2 separate regions of the Homo sapiens genome follow, and region 1 is linked to region 2. Evidence: promoter capture Hi-C in 16 types of primary human blood cells and fetal thymus (Javierre and others, 2016). All regions are on one chromosome and are shown on one strand. Each heading gives the region's core, a stretch centred on a gene start or on the middle of the fragment in contact. The rest is flanking DNA. Distances are from core to core; before and after follow the strand shown.

Region 1 (5,573 bases), core at 659-3,158, 360 kb after region 2:
AATCTGGGCTGTACCCATTAAATGCCAGCAGTACCTCTCCTGTGACAATGAAAAGTGTCTCCAGGCTGAGCATGGTGGCTCACACCTGTAATTCCAACACTTTGGGAGGCCAAGGTGGGTGGATCACTTGAGGTTGGAAGTTCGAGACTAGCCTGGCCAACATAGAGAAACACCGTCTCTATTAAAAATACAAAAATTAGCCAGGCATGGTGGCAGGCACCTGTAATCCCAGCTACTTGGGAGGCTAAGGCAGGAGAATCGCTTGAACCCAGGAGGCAGTGTTGCAGTGAGCCGAGATCACGCCACTGCACTCCATCCTGGGCGACAGAGCAACACTCTGTCTCAAAAAAAAAAGAAAGAAAGAACAGTGTCTCCAGACATTACCAAATGTCTCTGGGGGATTTTGTCCCCAAGTTGGTGACCATTGCTGTTTGCAAAGTTCTCTTCTGGAGCTGGGAATACAGCACTGAAAGCTTCAGACAGTTCCTACCTTTGTGGAGACTATGTTCTAGTTGGGGGAGACAAACGTGTAAACCAATAAATGAGACCCCTTCAAGTGTGATAATAGCCTTATTTTCTTCCTAGCACTTATTTCTACCATTGTCTGAGAGGTATTTCAGAGGATCGTTTTAAACAGCCCCAGGACTAGTACTAGGACTAGGACTTAGCTCTTTCTAGTTGACTGGAAGCGTGACATTCGAGGTTTGGTGTGGGACCTCATCCCCTGAACTTTGGTTTTCTTTGCAGCTATAGAGGAAATCAAAGAGAAAATGAAGACTGTAAAACACAAAATCTTGGTATTGTCTGGGAAAGGCGGTGTTGGGAAAAGCACATTCAGCGCCCACCTTGCCCATGGCCTAGCAGAGGATGAAAACACACAGGTGAGACCTCAGGAACCACTGGGAGATGCTCATTTTGTCTGAGGGTCGTGATGGCTACTAAATAACTGATTCCTAGGCCAGGCGCAGTGGTTCATGCCTGTAATCCCAGCACTTTGGGAGGCCAAGGCGGGCAGATCACTTGAGGCCAGGAGTTTGAGATCAGCCTGGCCAACATGGCAAAACCTTGTCTCTACTAAAAATACAAAATATTAGCTGGGCGTGGTAGCGCAGGCTTGTAATCCCAGCTTTTCGCGAGGATGAGCCATGAGAATCGCTTGAGCCCAGGAGGCAGAGGTTGCAGTGAGTCAAGATTGTACCAGTGTACTCCAGCCTGGGTGGCAGAATGAGACTGTCCAAGAAGAAAAAAAAATGATTCCTTATACTAAGTTGAATTGGCCTCTTTGGAATCTCAATCCGGCAGAGAGCAAAGAAATGCCCAGTAGTCAAATGAAGCATTTCACTGGATTCCCTAGCCAAGAAAATGGCTAGCAGATGTACATCTGTCCTTGCATGTGGATAGTTTATTACATTACGTTCACGCTTCTTTTTCCTCTTTATTAACCCCTTTTAGCTTTTCTCTAAGCCAGGGACCTGCAAACTATAGCCAGTGGGCCAAATCCAGCCCATCTCCTGCCTTATGGCCTTTGAACTAAGAATGTTCACATTTTTGAAATGTTTTTTGTTTGTTTGAGACAGGATCTCACTCTGTCACCCAGGCTGAAGTGCATTGCTATGATCAGGACTCATTGCAACCTCTACTTCCTGGGCTCATCAAGCTATCCTCCCACCTCAGCCTCTCAAGTACCTGGGACTACAGGTGCTTGCCACCATGCCCGGCTAATTTTTGGGTTTTTTGTAGAGATGAGGTTTTGCCATGTTGCCCAGGCTAGTCTTGAACTTCTGAACTCAAGGCGTCCCCCTGCCTCGGCCTCCCAAAGTGCTGAGATTATAGGCATGAGCCACCGTGCCTGGCCTAAAATTGCAATTTTTAAATTAGTACCTAAGTACCTACATATGATCCTTGATTTTGCCCACAAAGCCTAATAATATATTTGCTGTTGGCCCTTGTGGAAAATTTTTGCTGGCCCTTACACGAGTTTATTCATTTCCACCCATGCATACAGACGAGCATGAAAACTCAGATTACCCACTGCTGCCCTCTGGATCTCAACTTTAATAAAAGGGGTTGGTGGGTCGCTAAGAGCACACACTCTGGAGTCAGACAGCCCAAACTCAGGTCCCAGCTCCATCTACACCACTGCTGTGACCTTGGGCAAGTTACCAGGCTTACTCTGCCTCCGTTTTCTCATCTATAAAATGGGACTCCAAGGACTGAGTGAGATGGCACAGTAAAGCACTTAGCACGGGGCCCGACGAATAGTCAATGCTCAGTAAAGGTCTGTGATGGCCACCATTTTTATTACTTTATTTCACTCTCTGGATATGAAGGGATGATGATTACATCTGCCTTAGAGATGAGTTTGTAGCCTACCCAAGGTATAGTACTGGGCAGATTCAAAATACACTTGTTGGGCAGGGCATGGTGGCTTACACTGTAATCACAGCACTTTGGGAGGCTGAGGCAGGCGGATCACTTGAGGTCAGGAGTTTGAGACCAGCCTGGCCAACATGGTGAAACCCTGTCTCCACTAAAAAATACAAAAATTAGCTGGGCATGGTGGTACGTGCCTGTAGTCTTAGCTACTCGGGAGGCCGAGGCATGAGAATCGTTTGAACCCAGGAGGCGGAGGTCGCGGTGGGCCAAGATTGCCCTACTGCACTCCAGCCTGGGTGACAGACAAGACTCCATTTAAAAAAAAAAAAGGATATAGATAGATACACAGACACATACACACACACACACACACACACACACACACACACACACACACACGTTGATTCGTCATTCTGTGAGTCAGCGATCTCTTGCCATTTGAGGGTCAAATCTGTACTGGCCTAGTGGGCTGGCCAAGAAATCTGCTTTCTCAGATTGTCTGTATCGTTTAGAAGAATCTTTGCTTTTCGAAGCTGTCAGGAATATTCCTAAACAGCTCACTGGAGATGGGCTTTCATCTCACCACTTGCAAGTAACCACTTGTGAGTAGACAACTGTTTACATCCTTCACTTTCATGTAATTACGTTCTGAAGTCTTTGCTGCATGCCTGTCTAGACTTTGCAGTATACAGAAGGAAAGCACACCATTCAGTGTGGAAATATGGCTAGATCAGCTGTATTTTTTTATGCAGTGGTGGTTTAAAAAAAAAAGAAGTCAGCATTTAGGAAAGTGTGTTTTCCCCAGGCAGACCTACTCATGACAGTGACATCACTATCTGCAAAGTGTCAACACATGGAAAATGCTGAATATGTCTTGATTAAAGTCAAGCAGCACAGATTTCTCCCTGCCCTAAATCCAGCAGGGTGGTGGGACATGCCCTGACCTTTTTCTGCCTGCCATCTGGTGGAAGCTTGGCTCTAACTCTGTGCAAGACCATTCCATGTTAGCGCTTGAGGCAGGCAGGCGCCTGTCATCTCATTGGCACAAAGGGCCTTGGATCAAGAGAGAGCAGAATTAGAAAACACCCCTGACGAGTCACAGGCTGCCCAGGGAGTGTGTAAGTTGTGGTGAAGGCAGAAGGAGCCTCTGTAGCATAAGCCTGAGCCATGAGACAGCCAAGAGTCATACACTGTCTTCCACTGCAAAAGTCACCGACTCCCAGCCTGGGCTTCAAAGTGAGACCCCTGTCTCTACAAAACATAAAACATAAAAAAAGTTAGCCAGGTGTGGTGGTAAGCACCTGTAGTCCCAGCTACTCAGGAGACTGAGGTAGGAGGATCACTTGAGCCTGGGAAGTCAAGGCTGCAGTGAGCCGTGATTATGCCACTGCACTCCAGCCTGGGCAACAGAGTGAGACTCTACCTCAAAAACAATGAATAAATAACAAGTCACCAACTTCCATAAATTAAACTTTTTTTGTTTGTTTTTTTGAGACGGAGTCTCATTCTTTTGCCCAGGCTGGAGTGCAGTGGTGTGATCTCAGCTCACTGCAACCTCCACCTCCCGGGCTCAAGCAGTTCTGCCTCAGCCTCTGGAGTACCTGGGATTACAGGCGTGTGCCACCACACCCAGCTAATTTTTGTATTTTTAGTAGAGACAGGGTTTCACTATGTTTGCCAGGCTAGTCTCGAACTCCTGACCTCAGGTGATCCGCCTGCCTCAACCTCCCAAAGTTCTGAAATTATAGGCGTAAGCCACCACACCCAGCCACCATAAATTAAACATTTATGATCTTTGTGATCTGAAAGGCAAACTGTCATAACAAGGTCAGCACTAGGTGTTTCAGGACTGAGTGTGCGAGGCCCTCCTCTGGGTCCTGGGACTGCAGAGCTGAGAGGGGCCTTGATGACCCCGGAGCAGTTGTCTCACAGATCAGAAGCCCAGACAGCCAAGGCTTCGAAAGCAGAAGCAACTTGTGCAAGGACTAAAAGTTAGGACTAAATCCCTCTTCCCCTACCCTCCTCATCAGGGGCAGTTTGGGGTGCTGAGTAAAGGAGACGCTTTGGGTCCCGACAGCCTTGCAGCATCTCCACCTTCTGCAGCAAACGCGGCCTCTTCCCATCAGCTGCAAACACAGGCCCAGAGGTCCTGCTGGGAGGAACGCAGGCGCATTGCTCTCAGCTTTGCTTTTCTGGCCTAACCTAAGCAAAATTAAATGGACAGATTTTGGGGTAGTAATAAGATCAACAGGAAGTCTGAACAGACAGGACCCAGGGCCGTCCTGGCCATCTGGGTAGCAGGAGCTTGTCAACAGCCTCTCGGGCCTGCCACGGGAGTGAGAGAGTGCGCTGGATCTGCTTCTCATATCCTTACATCATTTCGCTCAAGATTCACTCCCCAAGGGAGTGAAATTCCTCTAAAGGGAATTGATTAAATTGTTCCCTAAAGGAAGGGCATGGAGACAGAGTCACTAGAAACCTGAGAGTATCGAGGAAAGTCTCTATCACAGTCATAGTGATAGTGTCATTTCCCCGTGGATCATTGACACATCAGTCCCAAGTATCAAGGTCCGGAGAGAGCAAGTCAGGTTTTCCGATGATGTCGCTCTGCTGTTCTCCCCGGATGGCTCCATAGAGGGCACCTGAGGCCAGTGCTGGTCTGTGGATGGCGTTTTCCCGTGCACAAGTTTGAGACAGCGCTGGGTGCTGAGGAAGTAGGAGGCTGGGTTTGTTGAGAGGATTGAAGAGGGTGGCAAGAAACTAATTCAGGGCAAGTTAAAAAGTGACGCGGAGGTGCAGCACTTTGGATCCGAGTCATTGCAGCTTTCAAGATGAATACTAGCCCTGTTCTCAGAAGGTTCCTGAAGGCCGTCTCAGACCTCCTGTATCAGAGGGGAAGGCTTGGGGTGGAATGGGGTCGCCTGAAGCTGCACCTGAGTCACAACTAAAGAGCTTTTCCAGGTTTCCATCTTACTTTAAGTTTCTGTTCTGTAAGTTTAGCCTAAACCATCATTCACCTTCAGGATCAAAGGAAAACAGGGCTTGGTCAGGGTTCAGCTAGAGGCTCCACTCTGGTCCTCCACAGCAGGCCCGTGGTGTACTGGAAAGAGCCCCAGTTGGGGCCGAAAGACCTCAGTTTATGTCCCAGCTCTGTTCCCTGCTTATTGAACTGGTCCCCTCTGAACCTCAGTTTCCTC
Region 2 (5,788 bases), core at 2,198-4,697:
TCTGGGTTCATTCAGGTCGTTGGCAGTACTACTTTCATTCTCAAGGTTTACATGTGGTCCCCCTCATCTTCAAGCCAGGAACCATGGGCTGAGTTCTGCCTGTGCTTTGAAAATCTATGACTTTCCTTTCTGCTGCATCTGTGTGACTTGTCTTTTGCCTTTAGGGATTCACGTGATTACACTGTACTCACCAGGGAAATCCCGGTTAAGTTCTCCATCTTAAGGTCAGCTGATTACAACCTTAATCATATTTGCAAAGTCCCTTTTGCCATGTAAGGTGACTTATAACCATAAGACGCACACTAGGAGACAAAGATCATGGGAGTACAAATTCTGCCCGCCACAATCCTCAATGGAAGAAAACTATCAAACAAGAAAGCATTCCAACACAAAAATGTAAAGAATTTACTCAAGATAATTGATATTCTCAGCTTTATTAATTTTAATAATAATAGTTACTATACATCAAGTGTCTACTATAAGTCAGGAAATGTACAAGCAACTGTATCTGTTATTATGTTAAGCATTATTTTAAAAAGTCAAACAGCAAATTGAGAGACTTCATAGTACTTCATATAGCACATTATGTGAATGAATTTATTTATTTATTTATTGAGATGGAGTCTCGCTCTGTCACCAGGCTGGAGTGCAGTGGCGTGATCTTGACTCATTGCAACCTCCTTCTTTCAGGTTCAAGCAATTCTCCTACCTCAGTCTCCCAAGTAGCTGGGACTACAGGTGCGCACCATCATGCCCAGCTAATTTTTGTATTTTTAGTAGAGACAGGGTTTCACCATGTTGGCCAGGATGGTCTTGATCTCAAGTGATCTGCCCACCTTGGCCTCCCAAAGTGCTGGGATTACAGGCATGAGCCACCGCACCCAGCCAACAATAAACTTTATTAACATAATGTCCAGTAAATATCAATTATTATAATTTTTTTATAGAGATGGGGTCTCGCTATATTGCCCAGGCTGGTCTCAAACTCCTGGGCTCAAGCTATCTGTCGGTCTTGGCATCCTAAAATGCTAGGATTACAGGTGTCCACCTGGCCTATTATATTACTATTGTTAAAATGACATACAAGATATCCTAGTACCTTAAATAGACATAACATTTCTAAAGGCTAGTTACTCACTGTTAACTGAATTAAGTCCAAATTCCTTATCTGACTGCAACTTACTACCTCCCACTCCCTCCCACACTATCTCTCTTAGCAACCCTATAATTATTTTCAAAATCATGTTCTAGAACAACAAAAAATGTGCAAAGATTAGGATTGTTTTACATTTTTGCTAATTTCCTTAACGTCTGACTTAATACAGTAAGACTCTCTCTCTCTTTTTTTTTTTTTTTTGGTTTTTGAGACGGAGTCTCACTCTGTTGCCCATGCTGGGGTGCAGTAGTGCGATCTTGGCTTACCACAAACTCCACCTCTCGGGTTCAGTCGATTCTCCTGCTTCAGCCTCCCGAGTAGCTGGGATTACAGGCACGCGCCACCATGCCCGGCTAATTTTTGTATTTTTAGTAGAGATGGGGTTTCACTATGTTGGCCAGGCTGGTCTCGAACTATTGACCTCATGATCCGGCTGCCTCAGCCTCCCAAAGTGCTGGGATTACAGATGTGAGCCACTGCGCTTGGCCTCTCTCTCTCTCTTTTCTAAGACAGTCTCTTGCTCTATCACCCAGGGTGGAGTGCAGTGACACTATCACAGCTCACTGCAGTCCCTAACTCCTAAGCTTAAGCGATCCTCCCGTCCTCTCAGCCTCCCGTGTAGGTGGAAGGATGCAGCTAACTTTTTATTTTTACTTTTCTAGAAAAGTGGGTATCTCACTTTGTTGCCCAGGTTGGTAGTTAGATTCTCATGTCTGCTTCTGTATTCAATCTGTAGCAATATCACCCGTCGATTTTCCAGAGGCTTCTAGAAAATTCCATGTACTCTCCTGACTCAGAGAATGAAAAAAGCAAAATCATCTTTATATTATTATAAAAATAGTATAATTATAAAAATAGGATTGACATTAAAGATTACCCCTAGATCCCTGGAGCATATTTGGGGAACTGGCTGGTTGGAGTATGTTATTCCATTGATGACCCAACCTAGATTGTCCGGACTTGCCTCATTTTTCTCCTAACTGGAAGTGACAAGGCAGGCAGCTCTAGCCTCATGACAAGCGTGGTGGCTCACGCCTGTAATCCCAGCACTTTGGGAGGCCGAAGCAGGTGGATTACCTGAGGTCGGGAGTTCATGACCAGCCTGATCAACATTGAGAAACCCCGTCTCTACTAAAAATAAAAAAAAAACTTAGCCAGGCACTGTGGCGCATGCCTATAATCCCAGCTACTTGTTGGGGGCAGAGGTAGGAGAAGCGCTTGAACCCGGGAGGCGGAGGTTGTGGTGAGCCGAGATCGCGCCATTGCACTCCAGCCTAGGCAACAAGAGCAAAACTCTGTCAAATAAATAAATAAATTAATTAATGAAAAAGAGGGCATTATGGATCTAATCTACTGTTGTATTTCCTGTATTTTCTACACAGTGGGCATTCAGTGACCACCTGTTGAGTGAGTTCATGGCATCCAAGTGCACAGCCACCTAAGGCATCGGGCCTCATGAAATCACAAGCAGCCAAGGCTGGCAGGTTCCTGGGACAATTTAGCAAACTCAAGGCTATGGTGCGGGTGGGTGCAGTGGCTCATGCCTGTAATCCCAACATATGGGGAGGCAGAGGTGGCGGATCACCTGAGGTCCAGGAGTTCAAGACCAGCCTGGCCAACATAGTGAAACCCCATGTCTATTAAAAGTACAAAAATTAGCCGGGCATGGTGGTGCACACCTGTGGTCCCAGCTACTCGGGAGGCTAAGGCAGGAGAATCGCTTGAACCTGGGAGGTGGGAAATGGGGGTACAGTGAGCTGAGATCACGCCACTGAACTCCAGCCTGGGCGACAAGAGCGAAACTCCGTCTCAAAAAAAAAAAAAAAAAAAAAAGACTACGGTGCTAGGACCAATCTCCTGAGTCACAAAATTTAAGGAGTCGTCCAAAAAAGTAAATAAGATAAATATTTTCAAACAATATTAGAAAATTCAAATCGGAAACTACCGACCGGGTGAGGAGTTGTTTTTGTAAATAAGGTCTTATTCCTAATAAGTTTCGAAAGTCTAAATCTTCACACGAGTCACTCAAAAGAAAGGCCCAGCTCAGGAGCCTGCATCTGCGCTATGGCGGGTAAGCCCCGGTGGCTGACCGGAAGAAGCGCCCACGGAGGCGAACCCCAGGCGCCCCTCAGCCTACTTCCATTTCCCCTCGCGACCCTTCGCCCCGCCCACTCTAGCTGGCTGTGCCTGACTGGCTGGGCTGCCGCATATTCGCGCTGCCATTGGTCCATAATCAGCTGGGGGTGGGCGTAGGGAGACCTACTTCAGCAGGTCCTGGCCGGACCAGCATTGTTAACGGCTGCGGTTCGAAGTGGCTGTGGGTATTGCTGCGGCTGGTGCGTCGTCGCTCTAGGTACGTTGGGGCCGGGCGAGTGTCCTGCGAGAGCGGCGATTGGCGGGGTGGCGGCTCTAGGAGCGTCGGTCGCCTCTCTGAGGGCCGGCCCCGGAGGCCTCGGAGCGCCGGGCCTACCGGACGTTTGCGGCGAAGCTGCCCTGACTGAAAAGCGTCCGCGGGGCCGTCTGACAGGTCCGGGAAGAGGCCCCTGAGGGGCGGACGGGCGCGTCTCCACCGTTTTCGCAGAGGGATACTGGTGAAGCGGGAGTGGTGTGCGGCCTCAGGTCCGGGCGGCACTGGGGTTAGGGACTGCGGAGGGAAGTGGTGCGTGTTTTTTGTCCTGAGGGGTAAGTAAAAGCTCGCTCTTGTCCGGAATGCTTTCAGAAATTAACGGATAAATCTCCACCTCCACCAATTTTAGTGTCCCATTGCCAAATTTTCTTGAGTTGTTTTAATCATCTAATGAAGTCAGGTGCCAGAAGGCAACTGGATCTCGCCTGGCGGCCTTGAAGTTTGTTAAAAAGTAGGGACCAGAGCATCAGGAAAAATACAAAATTCTGAGTAAAATGCTGAAATCCCGTACCTCTGAGCTTGCCGGTGTAAGGATGGTAGGATTTAAGGAAGACGATTTCCTTAAGGTAGAAGTTCGTTTTTATGAATATGTTTTTAAGAAAATTCCATCTTATCGCCCTTCTCTAACCAGTTTTCTCCAAGTTTGGCAAGCAAGTTTGAGAAAGAGAGGACGCAATAATTTTTTTTGCCTTATTTTTGTTAAAACCTTACCGCACTTAAGGAAACGGACTTTCTACCTTTCCGTGTTTCTGTGTTGAAAATGAAGTTTCTAACCACGTGTTCCTTCCTTTACGACACAATGGCTTTTTCTGTTCTGAAGACTTGCATATGGTTAATATGTATGGAAGAAGAGGACAGTTGTACTGAATAGTCCACATTAGAAAAATTATGTCATATTCACTTAAATTGTTATTCTAGATTGCGACTTAATACTGTTTTTATTATGATTTTGTCATATTTATTGTAGCCAGTAAATGACCTGCGACATAACTATTTGCAAAACAAATGGGGAAGACCAAGATAAAGATAAGTTATATCACAGGAAAGCAATTGAAAATGCAAAAATGAAGCATCTGAATGAAGGACTAATAACACTGAATTCAGCTTTTGTGAAGTATGCCTTTCTTCTTAGCTCGTTTATTCTGCAATACGTTTGTAGAAGTGTTGACTCCGATCTTAATCAAATTTACTTCACTCTCAGTCTTATCTGCAGATATGTACAGACCACATCCTAAGATTGACTTCTGCCTCAACAGAAATACATGAGCCAGTGCCTTATTGGAAATGATTTGCGTGTTTTAAGAACTGGTGTATATAGGTACATCTTGAATGTTCTGCTTTCCTTGCCTTATGCCTGTACTTCACCTCAGCCTTCAATTCCATTGTGTTTCCTTGCTACTTGGTATCTTGAAATCTGGTACGAAACTATTGCATGATCCCTGCACCTTTGCTTCTGCATATATCATAGCTCTCTTATAGTGAGTGTGCACAATCTATTTCATTTGATGTAATCAAAGTTTAATATATTGGATAGTTAAAAATAAAATACAACTTTAAATGCGCAAGAGTATTAGTTCTCATTGTTGAGCGAGATGATACAAAATACCAAAAAATCTTATTCTCTCATTCTATGTCAGTCTATTTTACTCCCCCCCCCTCCCCCCGCCACCCGGACACACACACACTGCGGTGACTTATCTATCTCGTTTATTTTATTTTATTTTACTTATTTATTTTTCTTTGTGAGGCAGAGATTCGCTCTTTGGCTCAGGCTGGAGTGAAGTGGCGCGATCTCGGCTCACTGCAACCTCCTCCCTCCGGGTTCAAGTGATTCTCCTGCCTCAGCCTTGCAAGTAGCTGGGATTATAGGCGCCCGACTAGTTTTTGTATTTTTAGTAGAGATGGGGTTTCACCGTGTTGGCCAGGCTGGTCTCGAATTCCTGACCTCAGGTGATCAGCCCGCCTCTGCCTCCCAAAGTGCTAGGATGACAGGCGCTAGTCTTAGCGCCCGGCCTATCTCATATTTTTATATCATTTAGATAATTATTCTGCTTTACAGTAGACTAGGATAGTTTTTCATCTTCATTTTTACCAACGATGGGACAGATTGGAGTCAGCCAGTGTCTAGAGAGAAATAACCATGACTTTTTGGAGGAAAGGGAGATAATATATTGGATTTTTTTGAACTTCTGATTAAGCCATGAAATGTTTAGAGAGGTGTTACT

What was found. The method cuts DNA at HindIII sites, captures the fragments that hold promoters and counts their contacts. A CHiCAGO score of 5 or more calls a contact.
Region 1: a contact is called between a fragment that was not itself captured here and the fragment with the promoter of ATF7IP2 in region 2, in 1 of 17 cell types (fetal thymus). The highest score is 5.0, in fetal thymus.

Annotation. Positions count from the first base shown.
Region 1 is chr16:10,746,396-10,751,968 of GRCh38, forward strand. NUBP1 (NUBP iron-sulfur cluster assembly factor 1, cytosolic) reads left to right here. Exons shown (of 11, transcript NM_002484.4): 3 at 748-881. Among named protein-coding and RNA genes, the nearest start is that of NUBP1, 5.3 kb to the left of the region's middle. The HindIII fragment of the contact is 2,874 bases long and covers 472-3,345 here.
Region 2 is chr16:10,382,614-10,388,401 of GRCh38, forward strand. It overlaps ATF7IP2 (activating transcription factor 7 interacting protein 2), which reads left to right and starts at 3,448. Exons shown (of 14, transcript NM_001393719.1): 1 at 3,448-3,509. RefSeq lists silencers at 72-141, 3,187-3,326. The HindIII fragment of the contact is 4,743 bases long and covers 1,739-5,788 here.